3 separate regions of the Homo sapiens genome follow, and all the other regions are linked to region 3. The links are contacts of gene promoters, found by promoter capture Hi-C in blood cells and fetal thymus (Javierre and others, 2016). All regions are on one chromosome and are shown on one strand. Each heading gives the region's core, a stretch centred on a gene start or on the middle of the fragment in contact. The rest is flanking DNA. Distances are from core to core; before and after follow the strand shown. Region 1 overlaps COL1A1 (collagen type I alpha 1 chain). Region 2 has its middle 17 kb from the start of MIR8059. Region 3 holds the start of RSAD1 (radical S-adenosyl methionine domain containing 1).

Region 1 (2,500 bases), core at 1-2,500, 280 kb after region 3:
CAGTTGGGGTTTAGTCTAGCTCAGAAACAAAGGGATGGCGGTGATGACCTCCCAAGGCTCTTTCTCAGATCTAGGTGGATGTCAAGGCTGTTCCACCCCCTCCACAGGTTCTTACCTTCTACCTCTTTCCTGCTTTAGGGTTTCAGTGGTTTGGATGGTGCCAAGGGAGATGCTGGTCCTGCTGGTCCTAAGGTAAGAGGCTGTCTGAACATCATGGTCCTCCACATCCCCAGAGTCCCACCATGAATGAATTTCTCACTCATTATTCTCTGATCTACAGGGTGAGCCTGGCAGCCCTGGTGAAAATGGAGCTCCTGGTCAGATGGTGAGTGTGCCCAGTTCCAGAGGGCAGGGATGGGGCAGGAGGCAGGGGCAAGATGGAGGCCTGGGGGAACAAGGCTGTCTCCCATCTCATCTGACTTCTCTTGGTTTGGTTGTCAGGGCCCCCGTGGCCTGCCTGGTGAGAGAGGTCGCCCTGGAGCCCCTGGCCCTGCTGTAAGTACTCCTGGCCCCTTGGGGGATCCCTGAGCTCTGGAAGGGGCTCCCCAGGAACTCTAGGGACTGGCCAGTGCTCAGTGGACTTAACGGGGCTTCCCCTCTCTCCTGCAGGGTGCTCGTGGAAATGATGGTGCTACTGGTGCTGCCGGGCCCCCTGTGAGTGTGGCCTGTAGGCCTCAGGGCCTGGGAGTGGGGAGGGGTCTCAGTATCTGCTCTTGGGGCTGACAATGGGAGCAGGTTATGTTGGTCTGAACCCCAGGACTTCCTCTGTCCCAGGGTGTGACTTGCAGCTGCCATCTCTTCCTTCTCGCTGACATCTCCATTTCATTCACAGGGTCCCACCGGCCCCGCTGGTCCTCCTGGCTTCCCTGGTGCTGTTGGTGCTAAGGTGAGACCCCCCACTCTCCTCTAAGCATGACCCTCATGGGCCAAGGGGTTCATGTCTCCCTGTTCCCCAAACCAAAGGGACCCAGAGTGGCAAGAGAGCAGCCCGTTCACTAACACCTTTGTCCTGGGTTCTCCGTCTCTGATCTTAGAGTCCTGATCATTGCTCTCCTGTCCCTGTCTCCCCTTCCTCCTGCCATCCCGAGAGGCAAGGTTGGGTTTCCCAGGGTGGCTTCTGATATGTCCTTTCTTCTGATTCAGGGTGAAGCTGGTCCCCAAGGGCCCCGAGGCTCTGAAGGTCCCCAGGGTGTGCGTGGTGAGCCTGGCCCCCCTGGCCCTGCTGGTGCTGCTGGCCCTGCTGTAAGTGTCCCCGACTCAGTGTCCCCTTTGCCACTTTCTAACCTCAGAGTCCTTGCCTGTTGCTGACACTCCTTTCTCTGTGCCACAGGGAAACCCTGGTGCTGATGGACAGCCTGGTGCTAAAGGTGCCAATGTAAGTATCCTGCCAGGCTTCAGTCCCACTCCTGCCGCCTGCAGCCTGCCTGCCCCTTTCCCTCTGCTCCTAGGCTCACGCCCTGGCTGTCTGCCTCCCACAGGGTGCTCCTGGTATTGCTGGTGCTCCTGGCTTCCCTGGTGCCCGAGGCCCCTCTGGACCCCAGGGCCCCGGCGGCCCTCCTGGTCCCAAGGGTAACAGCGTGAGTACCAAACTCTCCCTTCTGCCCACCCCATGCACTGGCTCCAGTGCGGCTCTCATCTGGGGAGCAGGAAGACGCAGGCCAACTGAGCGCCCCCGACTCTCAGCTCATCCTCTTCTCCCCCCTTGCAGGGTGAACCTGGTGCTCCTGGCAGCAAAGGAGACACTGGTGCTAAGGGAGAGCCTGTAAGTCTCCCCGCCATCCTTCTTGCAGCCCAGCCCACCCTGCCCTAGGAGCCCCCTGAGGGAAATCCAGAAAGGAAGAGGAGCCCCTAGTCTTCTGGGGGAGTCCCTGCCACACCCCCAGGAACCCCTGACACTGGAGGCCCAGCCTCAGCCGGCTCTGAGGCTGGCACAGGATGGCCCCTCACCACAGGCCGCCTCCTCCTCTCGGCCCTCTCCAGGGCCCTGTTGGTGTTCAAGGACCCCCTGGCCCTGCTGGAGAGGAAGGAAAGCGAGGAGCTCGAGGTGAACCCGGACCCACTGGCCTGCCCGGACCCCCTGGCGAGCGTGTAAGTGTCCCTGCCCGCCCCCTCCCGCTCCACCCTCATTGCCTGGCTGGTGCCTGTGTGTCGCGGAGTTCACTGGCCTCCTCTCCTCCTGCAGGGTGGACCTGGTAGCCGTGGTTTCCCTGGCGCAGATGGTGTTGCTGGTCCCAAGGTAACCTCTCCTTGCGGCCGGGGGGCTGACCCTGCCGCTCCCTGGGCATCTTCTTCCTCTTTTGGCCCGTGGCAAAGAGCCACAAACTTGAGACCCTAACTGTTCCTGTGACTTCCCCCAACCAGGGTCCCGCTGGTGAACGTGGTTCTCCTGGCCCTGCTGGCCCCAAAGGATCTCCTGGTGAAGCTGGTCGTCCCGGTGAAGCTGGTCTGCCTGGTGCCAAGGTGAGGCCCCAGGCTTTCAGCCTGGCTTGGCCAGGCCCTG
Region 2 (4,292 bases), core at 604-3,103, 310 kb before region 3:
GATTCACATAGCACTAGATATTGACCACTTGCCTCCCCATTGTCCCTACACATAGGATTTCTTTTTCTTTTTTTTTTTTCTTTGAGATGCAGTTTCACTCTTGTTGCCCAGGCTGGAGTGCAGTGGCGCGATCTCGGCTCACTGCAACCTCTGCCTCCGGGGTTCATGTGATTCTCCTACCTCAGCCTCCCGAGTAGATGGGAGAATCACTTGAACCCAACAGGCAGAGATTGCAGTGAGCCGAGGTCGCACCACTGCACTCCAGCCTGGACGACAGAGAGAGACTCTGTCTCGAAAAAAAAAAAAAAGAAAAAAAAACAAAACAAAACTTTAAAAGGGCAGGGCCTTCGTCTACTTTATGTGCAGCTGCCTCACAGTGTCTAGAACAGGGCCTGCACACTGCAGGTGCTCCACAAATGTTTGCTGAATGAAAATGGGATGGTGGCTGGTGGAGAGAGTTACTGATGGTGGCAGGTCGCTGTGCAGGAGGAGGCCTGGGATTTGGAGCTCAGATCAAGGGGCTGTAATCATGTGTGCAAGGGCCCCAGTGCTTTACTCCCTGTGTCTTTACCGTGTGCATCTACCATCCTGGTGCCCTCCCACTCAGACTCTGGGCTCAGCCACGTGCTTGCTGTGGCCAGCAGGATGTTAGCAGACCGGAGGCAGGCAGAAGAGGGCTTAGCATCTCCATCTGTTCTTGCCCTGAGCTCCACTATGAGAACATGCCCGGGCAGGCCTGCTGAAGGATGAGAGACCCATGGATATGTGAGGAAAGAACATTCCGGGCCAAGGGAACGGGCAGTGCAAAGGCCCTCCTTCCAGATAGGGGCTTGCCTGGTGTACTTGAGAAGGAGCACAGGGCCAGTGGGGCTACAGCCAAGTGAGAGAGGGGACCACGTTGCAGGAGCTCCTGGGATCCAGACTGTGGAGGGCTTTGTAGACCATTGCAAGACTTAGGCACTTACTCTAAGCAAAATGAGAAGCAGAGGCCTGGCAAGCTCTGACTTCCATGCTAAAAGGATCACTTTATTGCTGAGAAAGAAGAGATATGGGGGCGGTGCAGAAGCAGGGAGACCAGTGGGAATGGGAGGGGATATTGCAATAATCAGACTAGGGTGGCCGCAGCGGAGGTGGGGAGAAGAGGTTGGATCTGACTATGCTGTGAGGTCGGATCTCAGAGGATGGGGTGGGGGTCAGTGAGAGGAGGTGAGGGGTTCTGAGCTGAAGAACACCAAGGCTCAGCCTGGCCCTGCCTGATGGCCCCACCCAGAAATCCCCAGCTCCCTCTGCTCCCGCTGCATTGGCCCTTGTTTTCATCCCCCGAACACATTCCCCTCTCTCCTGCCTCAGAGGTCTCGGTACTTGCCACTGCCTCTTTCCCCTCGCTCTTGGCCTGGCTAAATCCATCATTTGGGTCACAGCTTAAATGTTCTTCCAGAGGCCTTCCCGGGACCCCCACCCACCCCACCCCTATGAATTGTCTTCTCTGCCATCCTCCCTCCTCCTACCCTGTTCTTTCCCTTTCCAGTGCTCCTTTTAATCACGTACGTAATCCTGTGGTTATTGGTTTAACGTCTGCTCCATTAGATCACCAGGGAGCAGGGCCCGACAGGCTGTGTGGGGTCAAGTCCCTGTTATTCCCATCTAGACCTGTGTGAACTGGGGAAAGCTAGTAAACCACTGGGCCTCAGTCTCTTCCTTGGAAAAATGGCAGTAAGGCCCAAGGCAATCCTCCAGGTAGAGCGCTGAGCTCAGTGCCTGGCCCACTGTTCAGTACATGTTAGCTACTATGGGGGCCATGGAAAGGAGGCCAATGTATTTATCTGGAAGCGCTCAGGCTGTTCAGATGACTTCACTGTATTTGGCAAGCTCTCCGAGTGGCATAAACAAACAGCACTCTGAGTAGACTGCTCAAATGAGGCAGGTTTGAAACTGCCTCTTGGCAAATGCACATTCAGGGAAATTAGAGAGATGTGTGCATTTGCTGATTTTAGTTGCTTGTCATCCAAATACCAATCGAGAGGGGAGGATACAAATCTCAAGATGGGCTGGAGGCAGTGTTCCCCCTATGGAAGCCTAAGGGGGCCAAAGATCCAATTCCTGCAGGGGGTGCTTGGGAACTCAGCCTTGGTTCATCCTGCCTAGGACTTTGACACTGACTGAGGGTTATTGAGAAGCTGGGACCATTGAGGTGTCACTCCTCTAATGTTGGGGTCCCAGCTGCCACCATCAAAGGGCAGTGATGGTTGTGAGGTTGGCATGATTGTCCTCATAAGACCCTCCCTGTGATTCTGCCTCCCAGCCTTCTGGGTTCCTGCCCAATTTGTCAGGCTGGTTCCAGTTTACCCTGTGACTCTATGAACCATCCATCATCATTCCAGAAAATTATTTTTGGGCTATAGTTAACCAGGGTTGTTTTCTATTGTTTACAACCAGGATCGTCTCCCCTCCCAGAAGGGGCTGAGTACCAACCCTCAGAAAACCTCATCCACCACCTTGGCTCTGCCCTACTCATTACTGGGAGCATAAACTTCCCTAGGGTGCTATGGGGCGGGCATGTGTCAGTCTGTACTAGGAGTACCCTGAAAACAGGGCAAAAGATGTGCCAAGCTAGATTAGGAAATGTTAACCAGGCTTCTTTCTCTAGCATGTCATACCGCCCCGCCCCAATGCAGGTGGCAGCAAGGATGTCCTTGGGGCAGGAATGTTTCAGAAGAAATGAAGAGAAGCCAGTGGAGCTAGGTCTTGGATACTAGCTTCAAAGTTGAGGTCCTTGCCTCAGTAAAAACACTGATCACACGATGGCTCTCTCCTCCCCACTCCAGCCCTGTTGTCTGGGCTGCAGTAGGGGCACTGCAGAGCTCAGGGAGTAGAGGGGCGCAGTGGTGAAGGCACTTCCTGGTGAAGGCACTGAGGTACCATCTCCCAGAACACCCTCATGTCTCTACACGTAAGGAGACATGCTGCTGTGGCTTGTCTGGGCAGAGAGGGCCTGAGACAAACCCCTCCCCACAGTTTCCCATTGAAGTGGCTGAGAGAGGGTTCTGGGACCACATGAAGCTCAGGATCAGGATGGTATAACAAGGAGGCCAGGTGGGCCGCGGGCCCTCATGGTGAATGCTGATGGGATGGACACGGGCAGTAATGAATCCAGTGAGAACGGAAATCAGCAAATGATGCCCGATAGGGCCAGAGACCATCTTTACAGATACCAGCAGAGAAAACGAGAACGACCAAGATCAGAGCCCTCTCCCTGCTGACACCATTAGCTGGGACCCCAGGGCAAAGGGGGAGGCAAAAACTTAGAATTGACTGAAGAGGCCAGGCGTGGTAGCTCACACCTGTAGTCCCAGCACTTTGGGAGGCCAAGGCGGGTGGATCACAAGGTCAAGAGTTGGAATCGAGCCTGGCCAACATGGTGAAACCATGTCTCTACTAAGAATACAAAAATTAGCCAGGTATGGTGACACATGCCTGTAATCCCAGCTACTCGGGAGGCTGAGGCAGGAGAATCACTTGATCCCAGGAGGCAGAGGTTGCAGTGAGCAGAGATCGCACCACTGCATTCCAGCCTGGGTGACAGAGCAAGACTCCGTCGCAGAAAAAAAAGAATTGACTGAGGAAACCCTGAATTCTGTAATAAAAATGTTTCCACATCGTGCAACATGGGAAATGGAGGTGGAAATCCAAGTCAATTATAGAAAATAGAAACATTCACACTTCTGACTTTGTAACCCATGAAGCTTGTGCCCCTACAAGGAGATCTCACCCCCATGTAACCTGGGTGCCAACCCATTACCTAAGAAAACAGACAGGCCTGGAGAGCTTTAGGGAGAGTTGTGGAGGGACGGACTTTGAACTCTTGTAAAGTGACTTGCTTTTATTAGGCACCTACTGTATACCAGGCACATTGCTGAACACTATATATTATTTATTTTTCTTTTTTCTTTTCTTTTCTTTTTCTTTTTCTTTTTGGACAGTCTCACTCTGTTGCCCAGGCTGGAGTGCAGTGGTGCCATCTCAGCTCACTGCAACCTCCATCTCCCAGGTTCAGGTGATTCTCGTGCCTCAGGCTCCCGAACTATATATTATTTCTTTCTGTTTTTGTTTGTTTTGTTTTGTTTTTGAGACAGGGTCTCACTTGGTTGCCCAGGTTGGAGTGCAGTGGTGCGGTCTCAGCTCACTGCAAGCTCAGCCTCTGGAGTAACTGGGATCATAGGTATGTGTCACAACGCCTGGCTAATTTTTGTATTTTCACTAGAGACGGTGTTTCGCCATGTTGCCCAGGCTGG
Region 3 (4,131 bases), core at 1,288-3,787:
CTCCCTAACCTCTAAATACTTAGGTGTGTATTTCCTAAAGAACAAGGACATTCTCTTACATAACTGCAATCCAATTACAGAGTTCAGGAAATGCAACACTGACACAACACCATTACATAATACATTGTCATATTCAAATTTGGCTAATGGTCCCAATAACATCTACTGTAGTAATTTCCTCCTTCCTCCCCAGTCAGGGGCCACACATTGTATTCAGCTGTCTCTTCTGTCTCCTTTAGATTCTCAGCCTTTCTTTGTCTCTCATGACACTGGCATTTTTGAAGAATACAGGCCAGTTGTTTAAAATGAATAATTTAATGAATTTAAATAAATTATTATTATTTACGAATTATAATTATTTAAATGAATTATTTAAAATGAATAATTTCTACAGATTGGCTGTATAACACTGTGCTTATAGTTAACAGTGCTGTATGTACATTTAAAAACTTGTTAAGACGGTAGATCTCATGCTGTCTGTTCTTACCACAATAATTTTGTAAAAATCTCTTAATTCAGGGTTTCCTGACAATTAGATTCAAGATATGCGCTTTGGGGTAAGAATATCTTAGAAGTGATGTGTTTCTGTCAGCATATTCCATCAGAACAAAGCCCACAACCCGGAAGTCCTACGGAAATATCGGAGGTCAACCTGAGACGACTAGGTTTCTCCCTACTTAAAAACCTTCAATGGCTCCCTATCATTACTAGGACAAAACCCACACTCCTTAGTAGGCACCAAAGGTTTTGGACTCTACCTTGCAACCTTGTTTCCAGCCTCTCCAATCACAAGGAATGACTCACAACTCCCCCAAAACATGCCAGGCTCTTCCATGGCCTGTGTCGTTTCCCCCACACCCCCTCACCTGGTGAACTCTTCCTCTTCATTCAAACATCTCCTCCAGAGAAGTTTCAGTGATTTCATCAGAGTGACCTCCCTTCAGGCTGTACTCTAGAAGCCTTTTATAGAGACCCCCTTTACAGGTGACATTTACCATGCTGCAATAATCTGGCTACATGTCTGCGTCTCCCGTGTCATGTAGCAAATCTTTTTTGACCACCTACTATGTGCCAGGCACTATGGTAAGTGTTTGAAATAGAAAAGCCACACCTGATCCCTTTCTCATAAAGTCTGTGGTCTATGACAGCAGCAGACAATTAAGGAGTTATAAAAGTGTCGCACTAGGCCCTACTGTGTCCCTGGCACCCAGAAGGTGCTCAATCAATGTTTGCCCAATGAATGAATGTGACCAAAGAGGAGATGGCACTGAAGGGCGGGGTGCACTGGGATGGGGTGAGTGCCATGGGTTACCTGGAGGCCTATAGACAACCTGTTAACCCCTGCTGCCCCGAACTCTGCCAGTCTGGAGCCCGGAGCTGAAGTAGGATTAGCCTCCAATGTGACTTCCAAGTCTGCAGGCAGGTGGGCTGCCTGTGCCACAGCCTCCAGGACAGCAGCCACCGTGTGGGGACTGGCTAGACTGGGGGTCCCCCCACCAAAGAACACAGACTCCACCCTGGGGAAAGAGAATGGAGAAATGAGACCTGGGGGAGCCCTCTGGGATGCCTGCACCTATCCCCCACCACTCCTCCAAATATTTCCCAAAACGCTGCCTACAGCCCCCACTACCCACCGTTGCACCCCGCTGAGCCGCAGCAGCGTCTGAGCTTCGGTCACCAGACACTTCTGCATGGCAGCCTCCTCCAGGCGGCGAGGGATGTACTTGTTGAAGTTGCAGTAACTGCAGCGCTTCTCGCAGTAAGGCCACTGGGGGCAGTGAGTGCACGTGCGCGGTGAGAGCTGCCCTGGCCACTTCCAGGGTTCAGTCGCACACACCCCCAACCCCACCCCCACCCCTATCCCGAGGTCTTTCCACAGTAGCTAGGACATCTAAGCCACACAACTCCCCAAGGCAGGTCGCACTGGGGTTATTACATCCACTTCAATGTGAGAAAACTGAGGCTCACTCCTTTGTTACGCTGCCTCTTCCAACCAGCAGACGTCAGGAAGGAATTCAACCCAAGCTCTTTCTGGGATCATATAATTTTCATACAATTTTCCTATGAGCCATTTTCCCAGCTACCGAGTCAGAACACTGCTCTTAAGAAAATTTTGTCTTGCTAAGAGGAAAATTGTTATGAAATTTGAACCATTTGGTCAGAGTCACCGAGCCGGTGAGTAGCAGAGACTTCAGGTTTCTGGACCAAGTCATTTCCCTGCCAAAGCACAGGGTCCCATCCCAGACCTCGTACGGGGGCACGGAAACACGGCAGGCGGGTTCATAGAGTGACAAACCGCCACCTGGGTTTTGGACGGCCACGGTCACGGCCAGGGCTGCGGCCACACACCGTGGGCTCCGCCCCCGCCCCTACTCACGTGTACGTAAAGCGCCGCGCGCCGGCCCGCAGGCTCAGGACTCGGGGACCCTCCTGCGTTCTCCACGCGGCGGCGCCTCTGGGCCGCTCTGGCTGCTGCCGCCCAGCCGCGAGCCCGGGCTCCGGGGAGCGCCATGGCGCCCAGCGCAGCGCGGCGCACTGACCCGAGCAGGAGACGCGCGCAGGGATCACTGTGAGTGCGCAGCCGGCGGAAGGAAGAGGGGCTGCGTGACCGCGCGACAAGAGGGCCCGGGCCCGGGGCTGCGGCGCCACCTGCCGGGCGCCCGGGCGCTCACTGCGGCCTCCTGTCGGTTCTTTCCCCAGGCCGCGAGGCGGGCTGCTTGCCTTTTGGCACCTTGTGCCCGGGCGAGTTCCCGGACCCATCCAGGAGCTCTTAGTTTGTTCAGTCAATTCCTTGACATTTGATGTGCCTGGCTCAGAACTGGGCGCTGGGGACATCTAGGTGCATAAAGCCAGGTTGCATTCTGGCAGGAGAGAGGCAAGCCAACCGGCCAGGACAGGCAAGGCGTATTAATTCCGTGCCTGCTGGACACCAGAGCCGTCCGCCTCAGTGCTGTGAGGTCATCTGTTTTAAGAGTGTGGGAGTCAGTAGGGCAGAAGAGACACTTGGGCTGGATCTTTCTTTTAATTTCATTTACAAATATTTGGGAGAGGGGAGGTCTTGAACTCCTCGGCCTCAAGCGATCCTCCTGCCTCAGCATCTAGAGTAACTAAGGATTAAGGGCATGAGCCACCACCAGGGCTATGCACGGGATCTTGGAGGAGCAGAAAATCCCAGGGGCAATTGGCTTGGCCGGGAGAGTAGACTGTTTTGGGTCAGGCCAACCCAAGCATCTGGAGGTGTACGTGCTGGAAGGACAGTCAGATGGTGTGTGTAGGAGAGAGGGGGAAGGCGCAGGGGAAGGCCTGGGGAAGCAGGCACCTGAACAACTGTCCCACAAAGCAGAAACATCATGGGCTTCAGAGGCAGGCGGTGCAGGACAGTTCTCCCAGTGGCCTTGAACTGACCTGGTTCTCCCCTCCTTTCTTGCTTGTAGTTCTCAAGAATAACTGTAGACGCCTGTAATCCCAGCACTTTGGGAGGCCGAGGCGGGCAGATCACTTGAGATCAGAAGTTCAAGACCAGCCTAGCCAACATGCTGAAACCCCGTCTTTACCAAAAATACAAAAATTATCCAAGCGTGGTGGTGGGCACCTGTAATCCCAGCTACACGGGAGGCTGAGCAGGGAGAATCCCTCGAACCTGGGAGGCGGAGGTTGCAGTGAGCTGAGACAGTGCCACTGCACTCCAGCCTGGGTGATGGAGCAAGACTGTCTCAATAAATAAATAAATAAAACTGTAGAGTGTGCAGAGAATGCAACATCCTGAGGGAAGGAAGGACTGGCCAGCACAGCCATGCTCTGTTCCAGTCCCCCTAGAAAAAGCATGTCCTTCAACACTTCAGCCCAACATGTCACATGGCCCCAGGGTATAAAGCCCAGGGCAGAAGCCGGGCGCGGTGGCTTACTCCTGTAATCCCAGCACTTTGGGAGGCCGATGCGGGCGGATCATAAGGTCAGGAGATTGAGACCATCCTGGCTAACACGGTGAAACCCCGTTTTTACTAAAAATACAAAAAACTAGCCAGGTGTGGTGGTGCGTGCCAGTAGTCCCAGCTACCCGGGAGGCTGAGGCAGGAGAATTGCTTGAACCTGGGAGGCGGAAGTTGCAGTGAGCCCAGATGGCGACACTGC

What was found. Contacts are between HindIII fragments. The CHiCAGO score rates a contact against its expected background, and 5 or more counts as called.
Region 1: a fragment that was not itself captured here is called in contact with the fragment with the promoter of RSAD1 in region 3 in 2 of 17 cell types (M0 macrophages and megakaryocytes); the score reaches 7.6 in M0 macrophages.
Region 2: a contact is called between a fragment that was not itself captured here and the fragment with the promoter of RSAD1 in region 3, in 1 of 17 cell types (erythroblasts). The highest score is 5.8, in erythroblasts.

What each region holds. Positions count from the first base shown.
Region 1 is chr17:50,194,309-50,196,808 of GRCh38, reverse strand. It overlaps COL1A1 (collagen type I alpha 1 chain), which reads left to right. Exons shown (of 51, transcript NM_000088.4): 12 at 139-192; 13 at 281-325; 14 at 442-495; 15 at 610-654; 16 at 833-886; 17 at 1,144-1,242; 18 at 1,331-1,375; 19 at 1,479-1,577; 20 at 1,709-1,762; 21 at 1,981-2,088; 22 at 2,183-2,236; 23 at 2,362-2,460. Among named protein-coding and RNA genes, the nearest start is that of COL1A1, 6.1 kb to the left of the region's middle. RefSeq lists an enhancer at 1-468. The HindIII fragment of the contact is 9,239 bases long and covers 1-2,500 here.
Region 2 is chr17:50,783,683-50,787,974 of GRCh38, reverse strand. No RefSeq gene overlaps it. Among named protein-coding and RNA genes, the nearest start is that of MIR8059, 17 kb to the right of the region's middle. The HindIII fragment of the contact is 3,784 bases long and covers 1-3,745 here.
Region 3 is chr17:50,477,266-50,481,396 of GRCh38, reverse strand. RSAD1 (radical S-adenosyl methionine domain containing 1) reads right to left here and starts at 2,537. Exons shown (of 9, transcript NM_018346.3): 1 at 2,378-2,537; 2 at 1,635-1,768; 3 at 1,313-1,517. The coding sequence starts at 2,512. RefSeq lists silencers at 1,324-1,710, 2,282-2,771. The HindIII fragment of the contact is 15,448 bases long and covers 1-4,131 here.